Linked DNA regions of Homo sapiens: region 1 is linked to region 2. Evidence: promoter capture Hi-C in 16 types of primary human blood cells and fetal thymus (Javierre and others, 2016). All regions are on one chromosome and are shown on one strand. Each heading gives the region's core, a stretch centred on a gene start or on the middle of the fragment in contact. The rest is flanking DNA. Distances are from core to core; before and after follow the strand shown.

Evidence for each region. Contacts are between HindIII fragments. The CHiCAGO score rates a contact against its expected background, and 5 or more counts as called.
Region 1: a contact is called between the fragment with the promoter of TNFRSF1A here and a fragment that was not itself captured in region 2, in 4 of 17 cell types (naive CD8 T cells, naive CD4 T cells, non-activated CD4 T cells and 1 more). The highest score is 6.9, in naive CD8 T cells.

The regions. Positions count from the first base shown.
Region 1 is chr12:6,337,941-6,343,734 of GRCh38, forward strand. TNFRSF1A (TNF receptor superfamily member 1A) reads right to left here and starts at 4,136. Exons shown (of 10, transcript NM_001065.4): 1 at 3,836-4,136. The coding sequence starts at 3,874. RefSeq lists an enhancer at 3,939-4,038. The HindIII fragment of the contact is 11,725 bases long and covers 1-5,794 here.
Region 2 is chr12:6,594,230-6,600,758 of GRCh38, forward strand. CHD4 (chromodomain helicase DNA binding protein 4) reads right to left here. Exons shown (of 40, transcript NM_001273.5): 8 at 6,305-6,440; 9 at 5,988-6,166; 10 at 5,544-5,783; 11 at 3,993-4,196; 12 at 3,665-3,870; 13 at 1,777-1,908; 14 at 1,105-1,201; 15 at 230-421. Among named protein-coding and RNA genes, the nearest start is that of CHD4, 9.9 kb to the right of the region's middle. RefSeq lists enhancers at 1,962-2,463, 2,464-2,963. The HindIII fragment of the contact is 5,750 bases long and covers 1,145-6,529 here.

The sequences.
Region 1 (5,794 bases), core at 2,886-5,385, 260 kb before region 2:
GGAGACAGCACCCCTGGTAGGAATATATTTATCTCCGGGGGAGAGTTTTCAGACCATCCCCCCACCTCCCCACACACAAGCACACACACCCTTACTTAAGAGTCTGGTGTGCTCCTCTCCTTTTGAGAACCACTGATGAGTGAACACAGTGTGTCTGAATGATACAAAGGCAGAAAGAAGTTGCAGCACCTCTCCTCCAGCTTGGTAGGCGCACCCTTCCACATGACCATTTCCCTGACCCTTAACATGCCCCAGACGGAATTCATCCATCTCCTCACCTAGACAAATGACACACCATCGACTTCCCGGACGAATGCTGAGAACTTGCCACGCTCTCTCCCCAGGGCCCCATCCCTATCCCTGCCGCCATCCCATGTGTCAGTTCATCTTGCGAGGCCTCCCCCTGTGATCTCTCGGTCCTCTCCGCATTCCTGGGTTGCCTCACACCTGGGTTATTGCAAGTGTCTTCTAGCCTCTCTCCTGCTCCCATCCGTCCTACACACTTTTTAAATCTTCATTCAGGCTTTAACTTGCACGCACAAGTGTGTGAACCTTCCTCTCCATCTCCAGGGCCTGGCTCCAAACAGCATTTCCATGGTCATGGAAATGATCTGAAGACTTCCACAGATGCCTCACTACTTTTTTTTTTTTTTTTTTGAAACAGGGTCTCACTCTGTCACCCAGGGTGAAGTGCAGTGGCACAATCATAGCTCACTGCAACCTTCACCACCAGGACGGAATGTAGTGGTGTGGTCAGGGCTCACTACAACCTCCACCTCCTGGGCCCAAGCCGTCCTCCCGAGCTCAGTCTCCCGAATAGCTGGGATGACAAGCACGCCCCACCATGCCCCGCTAATCTTTGTATTTTTTGTAGAGACAGGGTTTTGCTGTGTTGCCCAGGCTGGTCTCGAACTCCTGGACTCAAGCAATCCACACACCTCGGCCTCCTGAAGTGCTGGAATTACAGGCATGAACCACAGCACCCATCTGAGATGCCTCACCTCACTTCTAATCACAGTCTGGGCACAGAATGTGCCCTAGGAGAACAGCTTCTGAATAAACGAATGAATGAATTCCTCCACCTGGAACCATATTCAACACTCTTCCTCCATCCTCTCCCCCACTCCCTCTAATTCTCCCATTCACATTTCTTAGTGTTTCTCAACATGGTTTTTCCACTCCCGAACCAAGGTGTCTGGCTTCCTGCCACCCTGCCCATCAACACAAAATCCCATCTCTCCATTCCTCTCCTCTTCCTCACATCAGTATCCAACTCTGCTTCCCTCCTTTATAGCTACCCTGACAGGCAGTGACTTCAGATGTCAGCTCCACATCCACTTTTCTATGAGGCTTTCCCTCCGCCATCCCATCTGACACATCTCTTGTTCCTTAATTCCTTCAGCAAATAGTTAAGGGGCACAGTTAATGTGACAGGTCCCGTATGGGTGCTAGGGATGCTGAGGTGGATAATACACAGCTCGTGCTCTCAAGAGCTCTCACTTGAGTCAAAGACAGTCAGTTGTAGGCACTGAGATCTATACAGGGAGTGCTGCAGTTGCACAGTGAAGGACACTGAAGCAGCGTGGGGAAGCTCCTGAATTTTCTGGAGCTGAGCGCAGGAGCTGAGACCTGCTAAGCAAGGAAAGGCAGTGGACTAAGGCTCACCTCCTTCCCCAGTTCCTCCTCCTCCCAACTGGTGCTCCAGGACACCACATCACAATGCATTTGTGGATATTTTCCTCGGGATTGCTCTGAAATCATTTTTCACTGTAAGCCATCTTGGTTACTAGGCTGTAAGCTCTTTGAGAGCAGCAAAATCCTGTTTGCTTTGCCACAGTCTCTCCTGTATCATTCTTCCCTACTCCCCTACCCCACTTCTCTCTCTCTCTCTCTCTCTCTCTCACACACACACACACACACACACACACACACACACTGTGAGCTCTGCATTGCCCACTGAATGGTGAGAAATTCAGAAGGATGTTGCATTCCCTTTGTTTTCCCTTTCCTCCAGCTCCAGGCCAGGCTTCTGTCCCTTAGGAGACATAATCCCACCTGGGCTGAAGCACCCCAGGACGCAGGCACTTCCCTTTACCTGTTCAGGCTACCTTTACCCTCTGTTTTCCCAACACAGGTAGCCACCCAGTAATTACTACTAGTCACAGCAATATAAAAACTTTATTGAGTGCTTTCTATTTGCTACAACCTATTCCCCTGATGGACTGTCAAAGCTGTGGGCAGGGATTTTGTTCTCTGCTGTAATCCCAGCACCTATCACAGTGTCTAGCCCAGAGCGCACACTTAATAAATCAAATGAACACTTAACATGTATCAGTCTATTCAATCTTCAAAACAACAGTATGAGGTCAAGACTGTGACACCCATTTTGGAGATAAAGAAACGAAGGCATGGAAGGTTAGGTTATATAAGCTGCTCTTGTTCATGCAGGAGGTATGTGAGGGAGCCAGGGGCCGCCCCCAAACAGAAAACAGAAGCAGGATGTCAGGGCAGCTGGCTGGTGGGGAGACCGTGGGGGAAGGACAGTGGGAAGAAGGGAAGAGCGGGTGGGACTAAGGAGGCAGGAGGAGGCAGAAGAAGAAGAGTGAGACCCTGACCAGAGACGTGCTGCCTGGGGACCTGGGGCCGGGACCAGAGCGGAGCAGAGAGGAGGGGAAGGAGGATTAGCGAGAAAAGATTTCAAAAAAAGAGGCTCTGAGAAGTCTGAGGAGAGTCTGGGGAGATTGCTGGAAGAAAGGAATGGTAGGAGAGGAAGAGTATAAGGCACTAAAGAGAGGGGAGGTAGGCGCAGCCTTCAGAGGCCGGGCAGGGCAGGGAAAATCTGCCTGACTAGATGGGCCCAGGACATCTGAACAGGATGATTCCCGGACCAAGACGTGGAGGACGATCAAGGATACATTGAAACAAGGCTGAGGCCAGAGAAAGGGACATTTTCCAGTGACGAAAACAACTTTCTACCAACTTCCCCAAACTGAACTGTAGAATAAGAAACCAAGGGATTGTTGTTTAGGTCTGTGAGAAGCAGCGGGGAGGGGAAGCTGGAGGACAGGCCCAGGGACACTGACCAGGTGGGGGTAGGACTAGCTCCCTGGGAAGGCTCAGTCCCACAGCGGCTACCTGCCTAGCAGCAGGCAAAAGGGTAAAGAATGTCCCCAGGTGAGAGGCCGGGGCTTGGCCAGGGCACTGGGGACACTGTCCACTGGGTTGCCCTGCCCCATCCAGTGTCCCAGCCCATTCTCAAATACCTCCCACCATGAGCATCCCAAACCCACCACACCAGCCCATCCCCACTCCTCAACTCACTCCCCCACTTCACCAGCCGCCAAAATCCTGCCCTACAGGGTGTGCTCCACCAAGTTCCACAGGCAGCCTCGCCTCCCCACGGCCCAACACCCTCCAGGCCAGCCAGCTGACCGGAGGGACAGAATTCAGAACCGTCTGGACTCCCCGAGCACTAATCTTCCTACTCCCACTCCCTTCTTTTCCCCGCCAAATCTGCCCCACCCTGGGCCTATCTCCTGCCCACATTCCCTTGGCCGCCCACAAACTTCCACCGCTGTCAGGGGCCAGGGCTTCCTTTTACTCTCTCCCTTTCAAACTTCTCCCATTCCCCTGCCTCAGCGCAGCCCCTACTCCAAAAGGCGGATGAATGGGGAACCCCACACTGGCAGTGGCTGAGGTTAGGACCTGCAGGCCTGAGGCTGGCGCCAGGACCAGGCCCGGGCAGGAGAGGCTCGGCCCCCTCCCGGAGAGGGCCCACGCCAGCCGGAAGGTGCCTCGCCCACCAGCCCACTCTTCCCTTTGTCCCTGGTCTCACCAGTGGCAGCAGCAGGTCAGGCACGGTGGAGAGGCCCATGCCAGACAGCTATGGCCTCTCACTCCCCCATTTGGGCTCAGGGCAGTGTGGCAGCGGCAGTGCTGGGGCTTCCCGGGACTCGGTCTGTCCAGGACGTCCCAAGTGCCTTGGGGTGACAGTTGAGGGTTGAGACTCGGGCATAGAGATCACGGCCTGGTCCCAGTGATCTTGAACCCCAAAGGCCAGAACTGGAGCCTCAGTCCAGAGAATTCTGAGAAAATTAAAGCAGAGAGGAGGGGAGAGAAGGTGGGAGGGGAAGAGTGAGGCAGTGTTGCAACAGCGGGACAGGAAGAGCTGGAGGAGGAGGCCACAGGAGGCGGGAGGAGGAGGCCCAACGTTCTTTAACTCTTTGTAGTCCAGTCACAAGCACAGGAGTCCCAGATCTGGCTGCCTTGTGCCCCCAACCCACCAATCCGACCACTCCCAACCAAACACCAAGGGGCAATAAGCCCCTTGCCCACATCACTAGCCTTTCCCAGATGGATCACAGCAGTGAAAAGATCCAGAGTCTGGGAGTCAAATTCTCTGGGTTCCAATTCAGAATGCTTAGCTTTTTAGCTAAGAATGTGTCTTGGACACATAAATGAACTTCTCAGACACATAACTGAAACTGTCTGGATCTGTTTTCCAATTTGCAGAGTGGAGATAACCTGTCTCCTGGGGTTCCTGTAAGGATTTGTTCAGATGGGAGAGATATAGATAAGCGTCCGACACATGATAGGTACTCCATGTCCCTTAGTAATCCTCCCCTTTACTCCAGAGTTCTTCACTAGCCTCCTAGTCTCCCTCTTTCTTGGGAATTTACTGATCCAATCCAAAACTCAAAGTAAGTCCCAACCCTCGTTTTCTGCCCTGACTGGGTGCCTGCCATTCCTCACCCCAGGTCTCATCCAGTCTCTGCCTGGCCAGGTCCCCCCACCCTGCCCCACTGTTGATCCTGGCTCTGCCACCAATCATGCGACATCAGGCAACTCCTCTCCTAAGCCTCTGTTGGTTCCTTGTTTATTAAACAGGGGTAACAATGTCTGCCCACCTACATGGGGAAAGTGATGCCATGAGAATCAATGAGACGTATCCACGAAGCTGCCGTGGAAATAAAGATACCTCCATCAGGTGTTCCTAGCATATTCCCAGTGCCCTTTTCCTAAATATTCCAATACATCAATTATAACTCACCTTACAGATCATCGACTACAACCCCCTAGGTTTTTTTATTTCTTCGTTTGCTTGTTTTTCATTTTTGTTTTTGTTTTGAGGGTCCGCTCCGTTTCCCAGGCTGGAGTGCAGTGGTACCATCGCAGCTCACTGCAGCCTCGACCTCCCAGGTTCAAGTAATCCTCCCACCTCAGCCTCCCAAGCAGCTGGGACTATAGGTGCATACCACCACGCCTGGGTAATTTTTGTATTTTTTGTAGAGACAGGGTCTCACCATGTTACACAGGCAGGTCTTGAACTCCTGGGCCCAAATGATCTGCCCACCTCAGCCTCCTAAAGTGCTAGGATTACAGGTGTGAGCCACCGTGCCCACCCAACTGCCCGGTTTTATAGAGGAGAAAACTGAGGTCCAGAAACCCAATGTGCCAGGAGGCAGAGCCAACAGAGAACCCCAGACTCCCGACTGCCGGTCCAAGGGCCCCTTTGGCTATGAGAGACACACTGCCACTTTTTCTGTCACTGAGTCAGACCCCACATCCTGACTCTGGTTACTTTATGCCATCCTCATTGATGCAGACATCTCCCAAGAGAATCCTACAACAAAGGTACCACATTTACCCAACTATCTTCTTGGTACAATGACCTTCCCTACATCCAGCCCCGCCCAAGGGCCTGCAGCTGCTGAGGCTGCTAGAAATGCAGGCAGACAGAGAAGAGGGAGGTCCTAGGGCTTTGGAACTTGAAACCAGAGCTCCTCACCCCTTA
Region 2 (6,529 bases), core at 2,770-5,269:
ACCCAGGGCTCCATGCCCTCAAATCTTCCGCTGTGTACATGTGTTTATCCACTATCACATTTATCTACTATCTACTAAACACATGTGTACATGTGTTTATCTATTATCCACAGTGTTCTTGAAGGTCAGAGACCAATTTTTTTATTCCCTTATCTCTCTACTCAGTGTAAGTTAAGGCTTCAAACACAAAACACCCACACAAAAAACTATCCACCCCAGATTTCCTTACCTCCTTGTAAAGGGAATACAGGAAGACTGCTGTCTGTACAGTTTTCCCAAGGCCCATCTCATCAGCCAAGATGGTGTCAGTGCCCTGAGCCCAGGAGAAGCGCAACCAATTCAGGCCCTCCATTTGATAGGGGTGCAGGGTTCCACCTGTAGCATCCAGGTACTCTGGCTGTCGCTCATACTTCACTGTTGGCTGAAGGATGAAACAGAGAAGTCAAGAGCTGGCAAGGAACTCCCCTCCTCCCCTAATAGAGCAGCTGCTTCCTCCTCACTAGTCTTCACGGATCCTCTTGGGGAAGAGCTCCGGAAAATTCGGAGGGAAGAGATCCCCTATGATTACTGCAATTTCATGTTCAGTTTAGGGTCCTCCAGGAAACAGGGCTTAACCAGACCTGATTTTGATCCTACAGATCACTGAGGAAAAGCACGTCACAGACTCCCTACCAATACAATAATTCTACTAGTCAGGATCCACCAGGTAAATAATCGTTATGTCCCTCTTAGATTCATCTTTTTAACTTTAATCACCCTCAAATTACACTGTACAAACAAAACCCAGAGGAACTGAGCCTGAATTAAGCCAGATTCCTATGTAAGTGCATAAAAGCTAGGCTATGTGGCCCCTCCCCCCAGACAACACTTCTTCAATCATTCAAAATATACCTCCTTTTTTTTTTTCTGATGACAAAAGAAGAAAGTAATCCTAGTGCTTTCTGATATATAGAGATGTGGAGAAGTGGGGAAGCCGACTTTGTGAAGTAATCTCAGCTACAAAGTTACTATCTGCATTTCATTACTTAAGAGTACCATCATTAGACTGCAGCAAAGATACATTGTCCTACCCAACAAACTACAGTCCCTTCCACCCCCACTCACATCAACTGTTGGCGTTTCTGGAGGCCTCTCCAACTTCCGAAGCTTCACCTTCTTGAGCTTCTTGCCTGGTCGGCCTTCCTCACCCCTCATTAACTCCCTAAAGAAGAAAGACATCACACAGCTGCCCAAAATCCTTTTCTATAGAAGAAACAACTTGGCCAGGCACAGTGGCTCACACCTGTAATCCCAGCATTTTGGGAGGCCAGCACTTTGGGAGGCTGAGACGGGCGGATCACCTGAGGTCAGGAGATCGAGACCAGCCTGGTCAACATGGTGAAACCCCGTCTCTACTAAAAATACAAAAATTAGCTGGGCATGGTGGCAGACGCCTGTAATCTCAGCTACTCGGGAGACTGAGGCAGGAGAATTGCTTGAACCCAGGAGGCGGAGGCTGCAGCGAGCCAAGATCGCACCATTGCACTCCAGCCTGGGGGACAAGAGCAAGACTTCGTCTCAAAAAAAAAAAAAAAAAAAATCAGCTAGGTGTGGTGGCGTATGCAAATAATCCCAGCTACTCAGGAGGCTAAGGCAGGAGAATCGTTTGAACCAGGAAGTCGGAGGTTGCAGTGAGTCAAGATCACGCCACTGCACTACAGCTTGGTGACAGAGCAAGACTCCATCTCAAAAAAAAAAAAAAAGAAACAACTCTATGCCTCACCCAAAATCACTCACCTGTGATTCCAATAGCTCTGCTTGAACAGGTCGTAATCCTGGATCTCCACATCCTCACTCTCCCAAGAAGCCTGATCGTAAGGTAAGTCCCGCCACTTGATCAAGTAGTGGACGTGGCCCTTCTTGTCCACACTGCAAGTCCAGGAGAGAAAACCCTCAGAGCCAGAAAAGGCAACCCTCCTCACTTCCTCTCAAAAACTGGCAATACCGTTTGTTTCACACCAGACCTCTAGGTATGCCACAGATCACACGTTTTCAGAGCCTCTACTGTACCAGTCTCTGACCAAAAATTATCTCTAATTTATACTTTCCTAGAGCTCAAACACCAGAATTCAGTCAGTTAATAATTAACATAGAGTGTTGGCCGGGTGCAGTGGCTCACGCCTGTAATCCCAGCACTTTGGGAAGCTGAGGCAGGCAGATCGCTTGAGGCCAGGAGCTCAAGACCAGCCAGGCCAACATGGCGAAACCCGTCTCTACTAAAAAAAAAAAAAAAAATTAGCCAGGCATCAGGCCGGGCGCGGTGGCTCACGCCTATAATCCCAGCACTTTGGGAGGCCAAGGCAGGCGGATCACCTGAGGTCGGGAGTTCAAGACCAGTCTGGCCAGCATGGAGAAACCCCGTCTCTACTAAAAATGCAAAAATTAGCCGGGCATGGTGGCAGGTGCCTGTAATCCCAGCTACTCGGGAAGCTGAAGCAGGAGAATTGCTTGAACCCGGGCGGCGGAGGTTGCAGCAAGCTGAGATTGCGCCACTGCACTCCAGCCTGGGCGACAGAACGAGACTCCATTTCAAAAAAAAAAATTAGGCAGGCGTGGTGGCACACGCCTGTAATCCCAGCTACTCTGGAGGCTGAGGCAGAGAATCACTTGAGCCTGAGAGGCGGAGGTTGCAGTGAGCTTAGATCATACCACTGCACTCCAGGCTGGGCCACAGAGCAAGACTCTGTCTCAAAAAATATAATAAATAAATAAATAAATAGGCCGAGTGCGGCGGCTCACGCCTGTAATCCCAGCACTTTGGAAGGAGGAGGTGAGCGGATCACAAGGTCAGGCGATCAAGACCATCCTGGCTAACACAGTGAAATCCCGTCTCTACTAAAAATACAAAAAAAAAAAAATTAGCCAGGCATGGTGGCGATGGCCTGTAGTCCCAGCTACTCGGGAGGCTGAGGCAGGAAAATGGCGTGAACCCAGGAGGCAGAGCTTGCAGTGAGCCAAGATCACGCCACTGCACTCCAGCCTGGGTGACAAGTCTGTCTCAAAAAAAAACAATAATAATAAAATAAATAAATAAAGATAATAACATGAAGTGTCAGGCGCAGTAGCTCACGCCTGTAATCCTAACACTTTGGGAAGCTGAAGCAGACAGATTGCTTGAGCCCAGGAGTTTGGGACAGCTATGAGCAGTGATCACGACACTGCACTCAAGCCTGGGCAACACAGCTAAAATTTGTCTCAAAATAAATATATAAGGCTGAGCGTGGTGGCTCACGCCTGTTAATCCTAGCACTTAGGGAGGCCAAGGCAGGCAGATCACCTGAGGTCAGGAGTTCAAGACCAGCCTGGCCAGCAGAATGAAAACCCTGTCTCTACTAAAAATACAAAAAATTAGCTGGGCATGGTGGCTTGCGCCTGTAGTCCCAGCTTCTCAGGAGGCTGAGGCAGGATAATCACTTGAATCTGGGAGGCAGAGGTTGCAGTGAGCCGAGATCACGCCACTGCACTCCAGCCTGGGCACAGAGTGAGACTCTGTCTCAAAAACAAAAAACAAACAAAAAAAACCAGTGTCTTCCAAGTCTAAGTTACTGGTGACAGCCATTTTCCCAATCTCTTTAGCAGGACTCTCCCACGGAGACTGCCCGTCTCCCGTGTGCTCAGCTGGTACCTGTGGTTGAGGATTCGGTGGATCATCATCCACTCGGGTTTTATCCCATAGCGATAGAAGCGTTCCTCCATCTCTGCAAATTTAGGGTCCTTGTTCTTTCGCTTTCGGCTTTTCTCTTCATCACCACCAAAGTCCCCAGAAGGTGGCTCATCCATATCATTCTTCCGCTGATAGTTTCGGAACATCACCTGACAGTGCAGCTCCAGCTTTGAGCGGAAAGAGAAAATCAGCCACCAAGAAGCTGTGTTCATTCCTTCTATCCACAAGGCTCTTTTGTCACTATCCTCTTCATCGTAGCCCCTACATCTCCAGACTATCCTAAACTTACCTGCAGTTCAGAAACCCAGGAGCAGTGCCAGTAAGACATGCCTTGCCATTTCACAAAGAACTGCCGCTCTGGCCGCCCCTCCAAGGGCTTTGGGGAGGGCGTGTTGGGATCAGCATCTGGAGGCCGAGGCACTGGTGTGGGAGATGGTGGCTGACCCCACTTCCAGATTAGGATCTTCTGCACTTTGCCCTTCAGAGCTGGACACTGAGAGAAAAAGAGACAACTTAATCTCAAATCATAACCATGGGAGGAGAAGGGACAGCCCACAGTCTCAACTTCATCAAAGGACGATTCAGATCTCATTTCAGACCTGGAGCAGTGGCTCATGCCTGAAATCCCAGCACCTTGGGAGGCCGAGGCGGGCAGATCACGAGGTCAAGAGATCGAGACCATCCTAGCTAACATGGTGAAACCCCGTCTCTACTAAAAATACAAAAATTAGCTGGGCGTGGTGGCATGCGCCTGTAGTCCCAGCTACTTGGGAGTCTGAGGCAGGAGAATCACTTGAACCTGGGAGGCAGAGCTTGCAGTGAGCCAAGATTGCCCCACTGCACTCCAGCCTGGGGGACAGAGCAAGACTCCATCTCAAAAAAATAAAAAAAGATCTCATTTCAAATAAAATCTAATCCCAGGACTCCTCCAGGGAGAAAATACAGGTTGAGGACCCCTCATGTGAAATGCTTGGGACCAGAAGTATTTTGGATTTCACATTTTTGGATTAGGGTGCTCAACCTGTAATAGAATTCCCTCTCCATTTCTGGACATCGTCCAGGATTTGCGTGCCACCATCACTCCTATCTGCTTAACAGAGCCAGTAGTTAGACTTTAACAATAAGCCAGAACAATCAGGAAATCAACAGACTTAGAGCACAGAATTCCTCCCTTAAGCAATCTAAAGCAGTAAGTGGCCCTATTAAACATTCTAAACTGGCTGGCATGGTGGTAAACACCTGTAATGCCAGCACTTAATGAGGACAAGGGAGCAGAATGGTTTCAGACCAGGAATTCAAGACCAGCCTGGGCAACATAGTGAGACCCTGTCTCAACAGAGATTTTTTTTTTTTAATTAGCTGGATGTGGTGGCATGCACCAGTACTCCTAGCTACTCAGCAAGAGGTTGAGATAGGAGGATCACTTGAGCCCAAGAGTTGGAGGCTGCAATGAGCTATGACTGCACCACTGCACTCTAGCCCGGATGACAGAATGAGACCCTGTCTCCAAAAAAAAAAATTTTTTTAACAAAAAAATTGAAAACATTGTAAGCTACCAAGACCCTGAGGCAGGGTGTCAACACAGGGACAAATGTTCTCAGCTAGAAGAACATTGCTTCATCTCCTCTTAAGAGAGCTGGCAAAACATCAACTCCTCAGTTTGAAGTTAGTCCTATATTTTCCCAGGACAAAAGTATCCCAACACTATAGGATGAAGGAGAATACCTTTCTCAGGGCTGAAAAGCTCATAGTTCCTCTCCTGCACCCCAGCCTCACAATAGCCTACATAGAAAAGACTACACTTTCCCATTTTTTGCCCCGGCTGAGATCAGTCACTCACCGTACAACGGGGACAGAGCCATTCACCGTTGGGGATCTCTGGAAGTGGGGGATTCAGGCAGTGGATGTGGTAGGAAGAAGGACAGGTATCACAGCAGAGCAGTTCCCCACCATCCTTGCAGACCCGACAGAATTCCATATGGTGGTCATCCTCCTCTTCGAGGTCTCCCCCAACCTCTTCCAGGATCTCCTCACCCTCCGAATTGTCCTCTTTAGCTTCCCACTGGATGCCTTCCTTCTCCTGCAGTAAAGGACCACAGATTCAGATTATTACCCCCACCCGCCCACCGCAGTCTGAAGCCAGTGCCCATCATTCCTTTGAATGCTTCCCAAAGCTCACAACCCGCAGCACCAGCATTTCCATTTCCATCCAGGCCCCGAAGAGCTTTACTGTCCCACCCTTCTTCTCATGGGTTCCAAGGGGCCACAATGGCCAGACACTCACGCAGTGTGGGCAGCTCCACTTGCCCTCGGGAGCCTTCTCCATGTCGGGATCCAGGCAGACCATGTGGTAAGCACGGGGACAGGTATCACACAGGATGATCTCACCGCCTTGCTGGCACACCTCGCAATAGTCCTGGTGGTCTGTCTCATAACCATCCACAGCAGTCACCTCCTCCTCGCCTGGGCAAGGAAGAGGGAAAGCCCAGTTATTGGAAAAAAACTACCTCCCCCCACCCCCCGACCCCTATCTCCTTAGGGAGATTCTTCCCCAATCACTCCCACCTCATCCCATCACAAATATACAGAAGAGAAACACACCTTTCTTTTTCTTTTTAGTGGTTCGGAGTTTCTTGCGGCTGCGGCTACTACGGCTGGTGGAACCATCAGAAACAGAATAGCTATTGATACTGGCATCATCGAAGTCAGATTCCACATCTAAGTCATCATCCTCACTCTGGCAGGATGAAAAAGAATAAGGTTAGACGTTCAAGCCAAGGGGAAGGACAGAGTGGCAGAGAGGGGAGTACTCTCTCACTGGGGACA